Linked DNA regions of Homo sapiens: all the other regions are linked to region 1. The links are contacts of gene promoters, found by promoter capture Hi-C in blood cells and fetal thymus (Javierre and others, 2016). All regions are on one chromosome and are shown on one strand. The core of a region is centred on a gene start or on the middle of the fragment in contact, and the rest is flanking DNA. Distances in the headings are between cores, read along the strand shown. Region 1 holds the start of WWTR1 (WW domain containing transcription regulator 1). Region 2 overlaps WWTR1 (WW domain containing transcription regulator 1). Region 3 has its middle 33 kb from the start of COMMD2.

Region 1 (3,346 bases), core at 730-3,229:
TTCTCCTGAGGAATGTAGTTATCTTAGGGTACCACAATTGAAACAACCTCCTCTAGTGTTTGAGAATATATTTTCCTGTGGGGTGTAATTTGAAAATTTCAACTAATGTAAAATTCATGACATCAAAAAGCTGGAACAATGTGAAAGGAAGAAGAGTGACAAAGCAGGCTTGTGATTTGATGGTATTTTAGGTTAACAAGTTTAATGTAATAAAACTCCTAACAATTTCCACACGATTGATTTGTCCAGCCCACAACTACTCCACCACACAGTTGCTAATAACATCACTGTGCTGTGTGGTCATTATGTCACCCAGCTGGGAGCACTATGGCCTACCAACCACTGTTCACTTTTCCAGCTTGCTTTTCCCAAGAAGATAGAAACTGCAGACCACCTACTTCACCAAAAGTCCCTCTGTTCCCCAAGCTTCACAGCTTTTCTCTGATTTATCTCGGTGTCACATCCCAAAGGGCCTGGCTCTGGACTATCTGACTTAGAGTGGCCAAGGAAGGGACTAAGGGTCTGTGCCCAAGAGTTGGCTTCAGTCCTGCAGATTCAAGGCAAAGTCACCTGTGTGTTTTATGGTGGATGAACTTCACCACTGCTTCTGATCCCTGCTTCTGATCCCTTACAATTCCAACACTCAGAGACTCACTCCCTGCTTCCAGCTCTCCATATCTGTGAAATAACCGTGGAAGGACACGCACCATCTCTCTCTTTCTCTCTCTCTCTCTCTCTCTCTCTCTCACACACACACACACACACACACGAACACACGCGCGCGTTGGGCACTGTGACTTGGTGCCTTCTTCGGCTCCAGGCTGACTTACTTGAGGAAGTACCTCTGGCCAGTGGCCGTGAAGGTCATCTCCCAGCCCGGGGGCAGTGGCAGCTCGTCGGTCACGTCGTAGGACTGCTGGCGGAGGTGCGCGTGCTGCTGCGCGGGGCTACCCGCAGCACCCGCGCCGGTGCCCAGCTGCAGGGACGCGGGCGACGAGTGCGAGCGGACATGCTGGGCACCCCCAGCCAGTCGAGGCCCCGGGTGGCCGCCCGACGAGTCGGTGCTGGACTGGCGCGAGTGCGAGCCCGAATCAGGCTCCTTAAAGAAAGACTCCGGCAGGATCTTCTTCCGCCACGAGCTAGGCTTCGGATTCATGACAGAGTTGAAGAGGGCTTCGAGGTCTGTGTCTAGGTCCTGCGTGACGTGGATCACTTGCTGCCCAGGCGGCGGGAGCGGAGGGGGCGCCGAGGCCGGATTCATCTTCTGCAAAAAGAAGGTCAGATCAGCCTTTTATTTAAAGTCGGAGGAAGTGGGTAAGAGGGTTACAGGGTGAGAGGGCGAGATGGTGGGAGAAAGAATAGAGGGAAAAGGAAACGAGGAGACAGATAATTGCCCGCCTGGAGATCCCAGACACTCAGCGGTAAGACCAGCAGGATGGGGGAGGGGTCCCTCCTGGCCTCGAGAATTATGCAACTTTCTTGAAGCAAAGAAGTTGCCTGGAGGAGGAGAAGATAGGGCGAGGGGTGGAGGGAATAACTGCACTCGGGGCTTGCTGAACCGCAGGATGGCAAAGGAAAGGTCGCACGATTCCAGGACAGGCAGCCCCCCGAAAGAAGTTCAGCCCGAGCCAACTCCACCACGTCTCGACTCCGGAAGCCCGAGGAGCCTGGAGCCCTGGAGTGGTGCCGGATGAGCGCGCGAGCTCCAGCGGGCACTACCTGGGCGGGCAGCGAAGCTGAGCCTGAGCGCGCGGCGGCCGCCGTCCCGCCCGAACTTGCCGTCGGGCCTGGGTCGCTCGGGTGAGTCCCGAGATTGCGGAGCTGGAGCCGAGGCTTGGCTGACAAATCCCGACCCGACTCTGTGCCTGGCAGTCTAAGGGCTTCGGCTCTCACATCCCCCGAGCTGGCCTAAGGCGCTAGTGCTGGGCGAAAAGGAGGCGCAGGAGAAGCAGACAGCGCGGCCGCAGCAGCTCCCGGACTGTCCCATAAACAAAGTTTGGAGCAAACTCCCACCCCCAGGAAAGAGGCGGGCCCGAAAGTTGAGCTGTTGAATTATGTATGACCTCCTAGTCCCTAGCCGGCCAGCCCCCGCTCGCCCCTCCTCTTCCTCCTCCTCCTCCTCCCACCTCGGCTCCAGAAAACCCTGGGCGTGATGGGTACTTTACTGGGTAAGAGGAGACGGGTGCCCCCCACCCACTCCTCCCGGCCGCGCGGACCTCTCCCGCTCAGACCTGCATCTGCATTCCTTTGAGTTTACCACGGACTTGGGGCGGGATCAAAGGGAAAGTGGCCTGAGCCTGTTTCATCAAGGGGTTGTGGACCGAAACCAAGGCCGGGGGTGGCGGAGGGCACGCGGATGAGGGGCTCAGGCCTAGGAAGGGCCGGTCCTGGACACCGCGCCCTCCCCTGCAGCCAGGCGCCGAGGCCTGCAGCACCCGGAGCGCCGCACTGACCCGCGATTCTGCCCGAAGGCCGGCCCGGGTGCGCCCCGGCGCGGGGAGACACCAACAAGGCCAGCTTTTCCACGAGAGGCTGCTTAGCTCTTGTGACCATATTTGGTCTGGCGAGGAGGCATCTTGGCTGCCTGGCTCTCAATTGTCTGCTAGAGCACAGACGGTGCCCAGAAAGTGCCTCTGTCACTGGAGATGCGGCTTCGCCAACGGGTGGGTTGTAAACAAACAACTTTCAAACCATTCATCAATCCTTAATTTCCTCTACGGGGGTGACTCAGGCCACTAGAGATTGAGAAGAAAAAGCTGGGTGTTGGAAGAGAAGAGCAATTGCACCCCCCTCCCCCGCAACATCCGTGAGGGTTGTGGGAGGATTGGAATGTCCCTGCCGCCCTCCGGGGAGCCTGGAGCCGGGATGGAACCCGAGCAGGTGGCTGGAAGTAGAGAGGGTGCGCCAGTGACCCGAAAAAAGCCACCCACCTTCCCACCAACTAGATCTGGGCGAGGGATGGAGACCCCCTGCCTCTAGCTAAGGGAAGAAGGTCAAGTCTGGCGAAACAGCTGCGGGAAGTAGGAGGAGGCCTTGCCCTTCAGAGCAGCTCAATTTCTTTTCTCTCTGGTTGCCTCTCCACTGAGGGGAAAGGGTGGGGGGAGATGGCGAGGTAAGCCAAATTCCAGGAAGCCCCTACTCCACCCCATTTGATTCAAATAGGAGTTTATTAAGTAAATCAAACGAGACAATGTAAAGCACTTCGCACAGCACCGGGCTGGTTACGTAAGTGTTTGTTAAATAAAAGAGAACTGTATGTTCTTCAAGTTCACGTATTGTGCCTTAATTTTTTTTTTTTTTTTTTTGAGTGACGTCTCCCTCTTGTCCCCCAGGCTTGAGTGCAATA
Region 2 (3,689 bases), core at 769-3,268, 43 kb before region 1:
TCCTCTTAACTCCCTCCCCATGTCACTCCACTCACAATCCACCTACACTGATACCTCAAAACATCTCTTCCTACACAATTTTTAATGTTTTATTCCTTTACCTGCTTGCTTTACACAAGCCTGTCTAGAGTCCTCTACAACTAAATTATTTCCATCATCGTTAACTTTAGAACACGGTTCCAATGCCAGTCTGAAAACCATTCTGAAATATCCAACAGCTCTTCTTCCAAAGTGCAGGTGGGTAGGCTGGCAGCAGAGCAGAGATGGCTTTTTATACTTTCAGGATCATAAGGGGAGAGACTACACTCTGCTAGTGTTTTGTCTTCCAGCATCCACCATCTCCTAGCCTTTCCCAACACCCACCTCTTAAAACCTGGGCAGTCTCAGAAGGCAAGACCAGGAAATGTAAAGGCACAGGACCAGACAGAATCATATATGAAAGCCTAACACAGCTTAGGGGACTGGCCTAGGAACTATGGCCAATTATCCTCTCTCTTGGCCTAATGAGATTATGTCATGAAGATGAGTACCACTCCCTACCATCAGTAATGAGAATGCAGAGGCAAGACCCAGGGACCAAGGAAAGGGTTAAAGACAAGCAGCAAGATGAAGGGTAAAAGCTTGCTGGTTCAGAAACATTATCTATCTGCCCCTGACATACTCATCTCAATACAGCCAATCTCCACTCCCGGCATCTCTTCTTTGATTTACTAACTTATATTCTTTTGTTACTTTTTTATTTTTATTTTTGGCAGGGTCTCACTCTGTTGCCCAGGGTGGAGTGCACTGGCACAATCTTGGCTCACTGCAGCCTCGACCCTCCCTGAGTTCAAGTGATCCTCCCACCTCAGCCTCCCAAATAGTTGAAACTACAGGCACATACCACCATACCCAGCTAATTTTTTAATTTTTTGTAGAAATGAGGTCTCACTGTTGCCCAGGCTGGTCTCGAAATCTTGGACTCAAGCGACCTGCCTGCCTCCACCTTTCAAAGTGCTGGTATTAGTGGTGTGAGCCACTACACCCAGCTGGGCTTTTGTTATTTTTCAACAATCAAATAATCCATGTTCATGGTGAAAGAAAATCCACACTCACGGTGAAAAAAAAAATTGTAAAATGCAGATAAACAAAAATGAGAGAGAGAGAAAGATGAATGGAAAAAAGAAAGAAGAGAAAATACATAACTTCCCTATCCATTACTAACACTTCAGTACTGGCTTCCAAATGTGTTCTTGCTTAAATGTCTTTTGAGGGGTCTTGCTTGAACTGCTTTCAAACATCAGATTTTACTTATATTTCATCTGGGAAAATCAGTTCCTCTGAGAGCTATTACTGACACACAGTCATGTGCAGCATGACTTTTGGGTCAACAACAGATGGTACATTCAACAGTGGGCCCATAAGATCATGATGGAGCTAAATAACTCCTACTGCCTGGCAACATCGTAGCTGTGGAAATGTCGTGGCACAACACATTACCTTTCTCTATGTTTAGATACACAAATACTTACCATTGTATTTGTACCACTGTACCATTGAATACCTACAGTATTCAGTACAGTAACATACTGTACAGTTTTTGTAGCTTAGGAGCAATAGGCTATGCATATAGCCTATATGTGTAGTAGACTATACTTTCTATGATGTTCACAAAATGATGAAAACATCTAATGATGCCCTTCTCAGAACATACCCACATCAAGCAGTACTGACTGTACTTTTCAAAGGCAATAGCACTGATGAATAAGAATTTCTTTTCATGTAGTGTAATATAAATGTTTGATTCTACATCTTCCTCCAAAATCATTAAGGCTCTTTTGACCTAAGAAGTCTCTTACAAACAATATGAACATCTTTCAAAAGGAGACATCAGAACGATAGCTTAGGGTGAGCATGGTGGCTCACGCCTGTAATCCCAGTACTTTGGGAAGCCGAGGTGAGTGGATCACTTGAGGTCAGGAGTTCGAGACCAGCCTGGCCAACATGGTGAAACCCTGTCTCTACTAATAATACAAAAATTAGCCGGGTATGGTGGCATGCACCTGTAGTCCCAGCTACTCGGGAGGCTGAGGCAGGAGAATCACTTGAACCAGGGAGGTGGAGTTTACAGTGAGCTGAGATGGCGCCATTGTACTCCAGCCTGGGAGACAAGAGCAAAACTCTGTCTCAAAAAAAAAAAGATAGCTTAGGTGATGGTTACAGGGGGGTACATTATACTAGTCTACTAGTATTGAGGTATGTTTTAAATCTTCCATTAGAAAAAAGTGTTTTGCATATGCACCTAAGTGCTAATCTATGTGCAGACCAGCATGTGGCATGCTCCTTAAATGAAATAAACAATACTGAACTTTCAAAATGCCACTCTTAAAGATTTGCAGACATGTCCTAATTTGGTTGCAGAAATACCTATAATTCAGCTCTGAAAATTGCATTCAAAACACTGGTTTCAACCATTTTTTTATAAGGATTTCTTCTTTGGTCACTGATTTATCAGACTCTTAAAAACTCTCTATACACAAAATTATATGCTCTCCAGAATTTGCTTTAAAATAATTTAGGTAGCAGTTAACCATTACAAATTTAAAACATTTCTAAAAGAGGAAGGGGATCAATGAATAAGAATGGCAGAATGTGGACGATTGCTGAAGTGGAGGGATGGTAGGTACGTGGGAAATTATCATACTGTTCTCTTATGGATATTTGAATATTTCCATAATACAAAGTTTTAAAAAAATCATTGTGAATATATATTGCTCCAATTACGAATCAGTATTTCGTACCCAGTGCACAAATAATTAAGCTCTATTGGAATGGCTACTTACTACGTGCCCAGCACTATTTCTAGCACTTGATACTCATCAATTCCTTGAGACATGCCTGTTCAGTTGGTATTATTGGTCTCATTTGATATCTGAGGAAACAGATCGAAAGAAACAACCCACTTGGCCAAGGACTCAAGGCAAGTGAGATGGAGGAGGGGTAGCGGCCACACCACAGAGGTGTCTGCTACATATATTGTTTGGTCCCTTTATAAATATTATTGTACGTGAGCATGTCTGTTTCATTGTCACTTGCAGTATTTTAGTGCATCCTGTTTTTCTAGAAAAATGAATCAGCCTCTCTCTGTTTATCCAAGATAACAAAACAAAAAAATGGCCTGAGAACAATATTGGTCTGATGGAGGCCATCCTGACTGAAAGAGGAAACGTCCCTGAGTCAATATCCTCAGTGAGAGACATCCCTTCATAAAACAAACCAGGAATATTCCAACAAGGTTCAAATAAGCATAAACATCCACAGAGTTCAGTGGAAGCTACACTGCACTCAGCCACCGGCATTTTTTACTGCCTGTGGGCTTTTCCTGTCTCATCGCAGACTCAATTCTCAAATTCTGTTCCCTCAAATGTCTCAGGCTTTAAAGCTTCCATAAGATCTCATTTTTCCCCTTAATTGAGAATGTCCGCTTCCCACCCTTTCTTTCTGCCTATGAAAATTTGACCCTATCTTTAAAAATTCAGTTCAGGGAACACCCTTCTCTGTAATCCCATGTAATGAAATCCCCTGGCTAGAACTACGTATTTCTTCCTCTGTACTTTCCTAATAAAATGGCTGTCCTCTCTCTCTCTCTCTTTTTTTTTTTTTCCGAGGTGGAGTTTCACTCTTGTTGCCCAGGCTGGAGTGCAATGGCA
Region 3 (3,334 bases), core at 101-2,600, 61 kb after region 1:
TAAGTGAACAAGGGAAATTATACAAAATTATATCCCTAAACAAATATATTATAAAATTGCTTACTCTTTTATAATAACTCAATGACATTACCAAGTTACCAGACCCCAGAGACTATTTTTTAAAGTCTATGTGACTATTAGAAAATTAAAGGGCCTTCCATAGTGTCCCATCTTCTCATTGTGACCTTACGTTCTTTTTTTCCCCATAATCACCACATCAAACTTGGAATTTTGTATCTCAAAGAAGCAGGATTGTTTTCTCAAGGAAGCAGATTAAGAAAAAAACTGAGGAAGAAAAGGAAACAGATAGTAGAAAGCAGGAGATCGTTACCAACCACTCATTCAGCCACATGCCATGAGGGCCACTAGTCTCTGTTCACACAGGCTCAACAGCTCACAGGGTCCTCTGCTATCTCACTTTGGTTCTTTTCATTTTAATTTTTTACCCAAAGTTTATTATGGTAAAATATATGTAACAAAATTTACTATCTTAATCATTTTTAAGTGCACAGCTGAGTGGCATTCAGTATATTCATATGGTTGTGCAAACATCACCAGCATCCATCTCCAGATCTCTTTTCATCTTGCAAAATTGAAACTCTATGCCCGTTAAACAACAACTCATTGCTCCCTTCCTGCTACCCCTGGCAACCATCATTCTACTTTCTGTCTCTATGATTTTGACTACTTTAAGTACTTCATAAAAGTGGGATCATATAGTATTTGTTGTTTTGTGACTGGCTTATTTCACTTAGCCTAATGTCCTCAAGGTTCATCCATGTTGTAGCATGCCTCAGAATTTTCTTTCTTCTTCTTCTTCATTTTTTTTTTCTTGTGGCAGGGTCTCATTCTGTTGCCCAGGCTGGAGTGCAGTGGTATGATCTCGGTTCAGTGCAACGTCTGCCTCCCAGGTTCAAGCGGTTCTCCTGCCTCAGCCTCCTGAGGAGCTGGGATTACTGGTGCTTGTCACCACGCCTGGCTAATTTTTGTATTTTTGGTAGAGATGGGATTTCACTATGTTGGCCAGGCTGGTCTTGAACTCCTGACCTCAAGTGATCTGCCTGACTTGGCCTCCCATAGGGCTGGGATTACAGATGTGAGGCACCATGCCTGGCCTGAATTTTCTTCCTTTTTAAGGCTGAATAATATTCTTTTTCTTTTTTTTTTTTTCTTTTTTGAGACCGAGTCTCACTCTGTTGCCCAGGCTGGGGTGCAGTGGCATCATCTTGGGGCTCACTGCAACCTCTGCCTCCCGAGTTCAAGTGATTCTTGGGCCTCAGCCTCCTGAGTAGCTGGGACTACAGGCGTCAGCCACCAAGCCCAGCTAATTTTTTTATTTTTAGTAGAGACAGGGTTTCACCACGTTGGTCAGGCTGATCTTGAACTCCTGACCTCAGGTGATCCACCTGCCTCGGCTTCCCAAAGTGCTGGGATTACAGGCGTGGCCACTGTGCCCAGCCTTAAGGCTGAACAATATTCTATTGTAAGTATATATCACATTTTGCTTTTTCATTCATCTGTCAATGGCCTCTTGGGTTGCTTCAATGTTTTAGCTATTGTAAGTAATGCTGTATGAACACGAGCATACAAATATCTTTGATACTTTGCTTTTAATTCTTCTGAGTATGGCACTGCTGGATCATATGGTAAATCTATTTTTAATTTTTTGAGAAACCACCATACTGCTTTCCACAGTGGTTATACCATTCTATATCCCCCAAACAGGCACAAAGATTCTATTTTCTCCACATACCCTGCAAACACATTTTATTTTCTATTGCTTTGATAGTAGCCATCCTAAGGGTGTCCAGGTGGCTCTCACTATAGTTTTGACTTGCATTTCCATAATGATTAGTAAGGCTGAGCATCTTTGCATGTGCTGATTGGCCATTTGTATATCTTCTTGGAGAAGTATCAAATATCTATTCAAGTCCTTCACCCATTTTTGAATTGAGCTGTTTGTATTTTTGTTGTTGAGTTTTAGGAGTTCTCCATATATTCTGGATACTAATCCCTTATCAGATATATGACGTGTAAATATATTCTCAAATTCTGTAGGCTGTCTTTCTATTCTGTTGATAGTGTCTTTTGATATAAAATTTTTAAATTTTCATGAAGTCCAATTTGTCTGTTTTTTTCTTTTGTTGCCTGTGCCTTTGGTGTCATCACACAAAATCACTGCCTAATCCCATGTCGTGAAGTTTTTGCCTTATGTTTTCTTCTAAGAGTTTTATAGTTTTAGGGCTTACATTTAGGCCATGGATCTACTTTGAGCTAAATTATGCGTATGGTATTAGGTAAAGGTAAAAGTTCATTATTTTGCATGTAAATATCTAGTTTTCTCAGCACCATTTGTTGAAAAGACTGTCCTTTTCTTATTGAATAATCATGGTTCCCTTACCAAAAATCATTTGACCATATATTTGAAGATTTATTTCTGGATTCTCTATTGTATTCATTGGTCTTTATGTGTGGTCTTTATGCCACTACCACACTGTCTTAATTACTATTACCTATTATAAATTTTTAAATCAGTAAGTGTGAGTCCTCCAGCTTTGTTCTTCTCTTTTAGGATTATTTTGACTATTTAGAGTTCCTTGAAATTTCATATGAATATTAAGATTTGTTTTCCTATTTTTGCAAAAAAAAAACCTACTTGTTTGATAGGAACCACACTAAATCTGTAGATCACTTTGGGTAGTGTTGAAATCTTAACAATATTAAGTCTTCCAATCCGTGAACATGAAATAGCTCTCCATTTATTTATGTCTTCTTTAATTTCTCTCAGATATATTTTGTACTTTACAGTACATAGATTTTTTACATCCTTGGTAAAGTTAATTCCTAGGTACTTTATTATTTTTGATGCTATTATAAATGGAATTGTTTTCTTAAGTTTTTTCAGATTGTTTATTGTTTGTGTATATAAATGCGACTGATTTTTGTGTGTTGACTTTGTATCCTGCTATTTTGCTGAATTTATTAATTGTAACTTTTTTGTGTGTGGAATCTTCAGGGTTTTCTACATATGAGATCATGTCATCTGCAAACAGGGATATTTTACTTCTTTTTTTCCATTTTAGATGCCTTTCATTTCTTTTTCTTGTCTCATTGCTATGTCTAGCATTTCCAATGCTATACGGTGAAAGTGGAAATTTTTTTCTTGTTTCTGATCTTAGAGAAAAAGCTTTCAGTCTTTCACCATTAAGTATGATGTTTGCTGTGGGTTATTCACAGACAGCTTTTGTTATGTTGAGTTAGTTTCCTTCTATTCAGAGTTTACTGAGCATTTTTACCATGAAAGGATGTTGAATTTTGTCAAATGCTTTTTCTG

Evidence for each region. Contacts are between HindIII fragments. The CHiCAGO score rates a contact against its expected background, and 5 or more counts as called.
Region 2: a fragment that was not itself captured here is called in contact with the fragment with the promoter of WWTR1 in region 1 in 1 of 17 cell types (endothelial precursors); the score reaches 5.8 in endothelial precursors.
Region 3: a contact is called between a fragment that was not itself captured here and the fragment with the promoter of WWTR1 in region 1, in 1 of 17 cell types (endothelial precursors). The highest score is 10.8, in endothelial precursors.

The regions. Positions count from the first base shown.
Region 1 is chr3:149,656,046-149,659,391 of GRCh38, forward strand. It overlaps WWTR1 (WW domain containing transcription regulator 1), which reads right to left and starts at 1,980. Exons shown (of 7, transcript NM_015472.6): 1 at 1,720-1,980; 2 at 831-1,264. The coding sequence starts at 1,261. WWTR1-AS1 (WWTR1 antisense RNA 1) reads left to right here and starts at 2,165. Exons shown (of 3, transcript NR_040250.1): 1 at 2,165-2,663; 2 at 3,333-3,346. RefSeq lists enhancers at 1,807-2,386, 1,994-2,063, 2,624-2,833 and a silencer at 2,294-2,453. The HindIII fragment of the contact is 3,935 bases long and covers 425-3,346 here.
Region 2 is chr3:149,612,816-149,616,504 of GRCh38, forward strand. All of the region lies in intron 2 of WWTR1 (WW domain containing transcription regulator 1), which reads right to left. Among named protein-coding and RNA genes, the nearest start is that of WWTR1-IT1, 37 kb to the right of the region's middle. The HindIII fragment of the contact is 2,801 bases long and covers 619-3,419 here.
Region 3 is chr3:149,718,010-149,721,343 of GRCh38, forward strand. It overlaps a transcript of WWTR1 not described here. Among named protein-coding and RNA genes, the nearest start is that of COMMD2, 33 kb to the right of the region's middle. The HindIII fragment of the contact is 3,669 bases long and covers 1-3,185 here.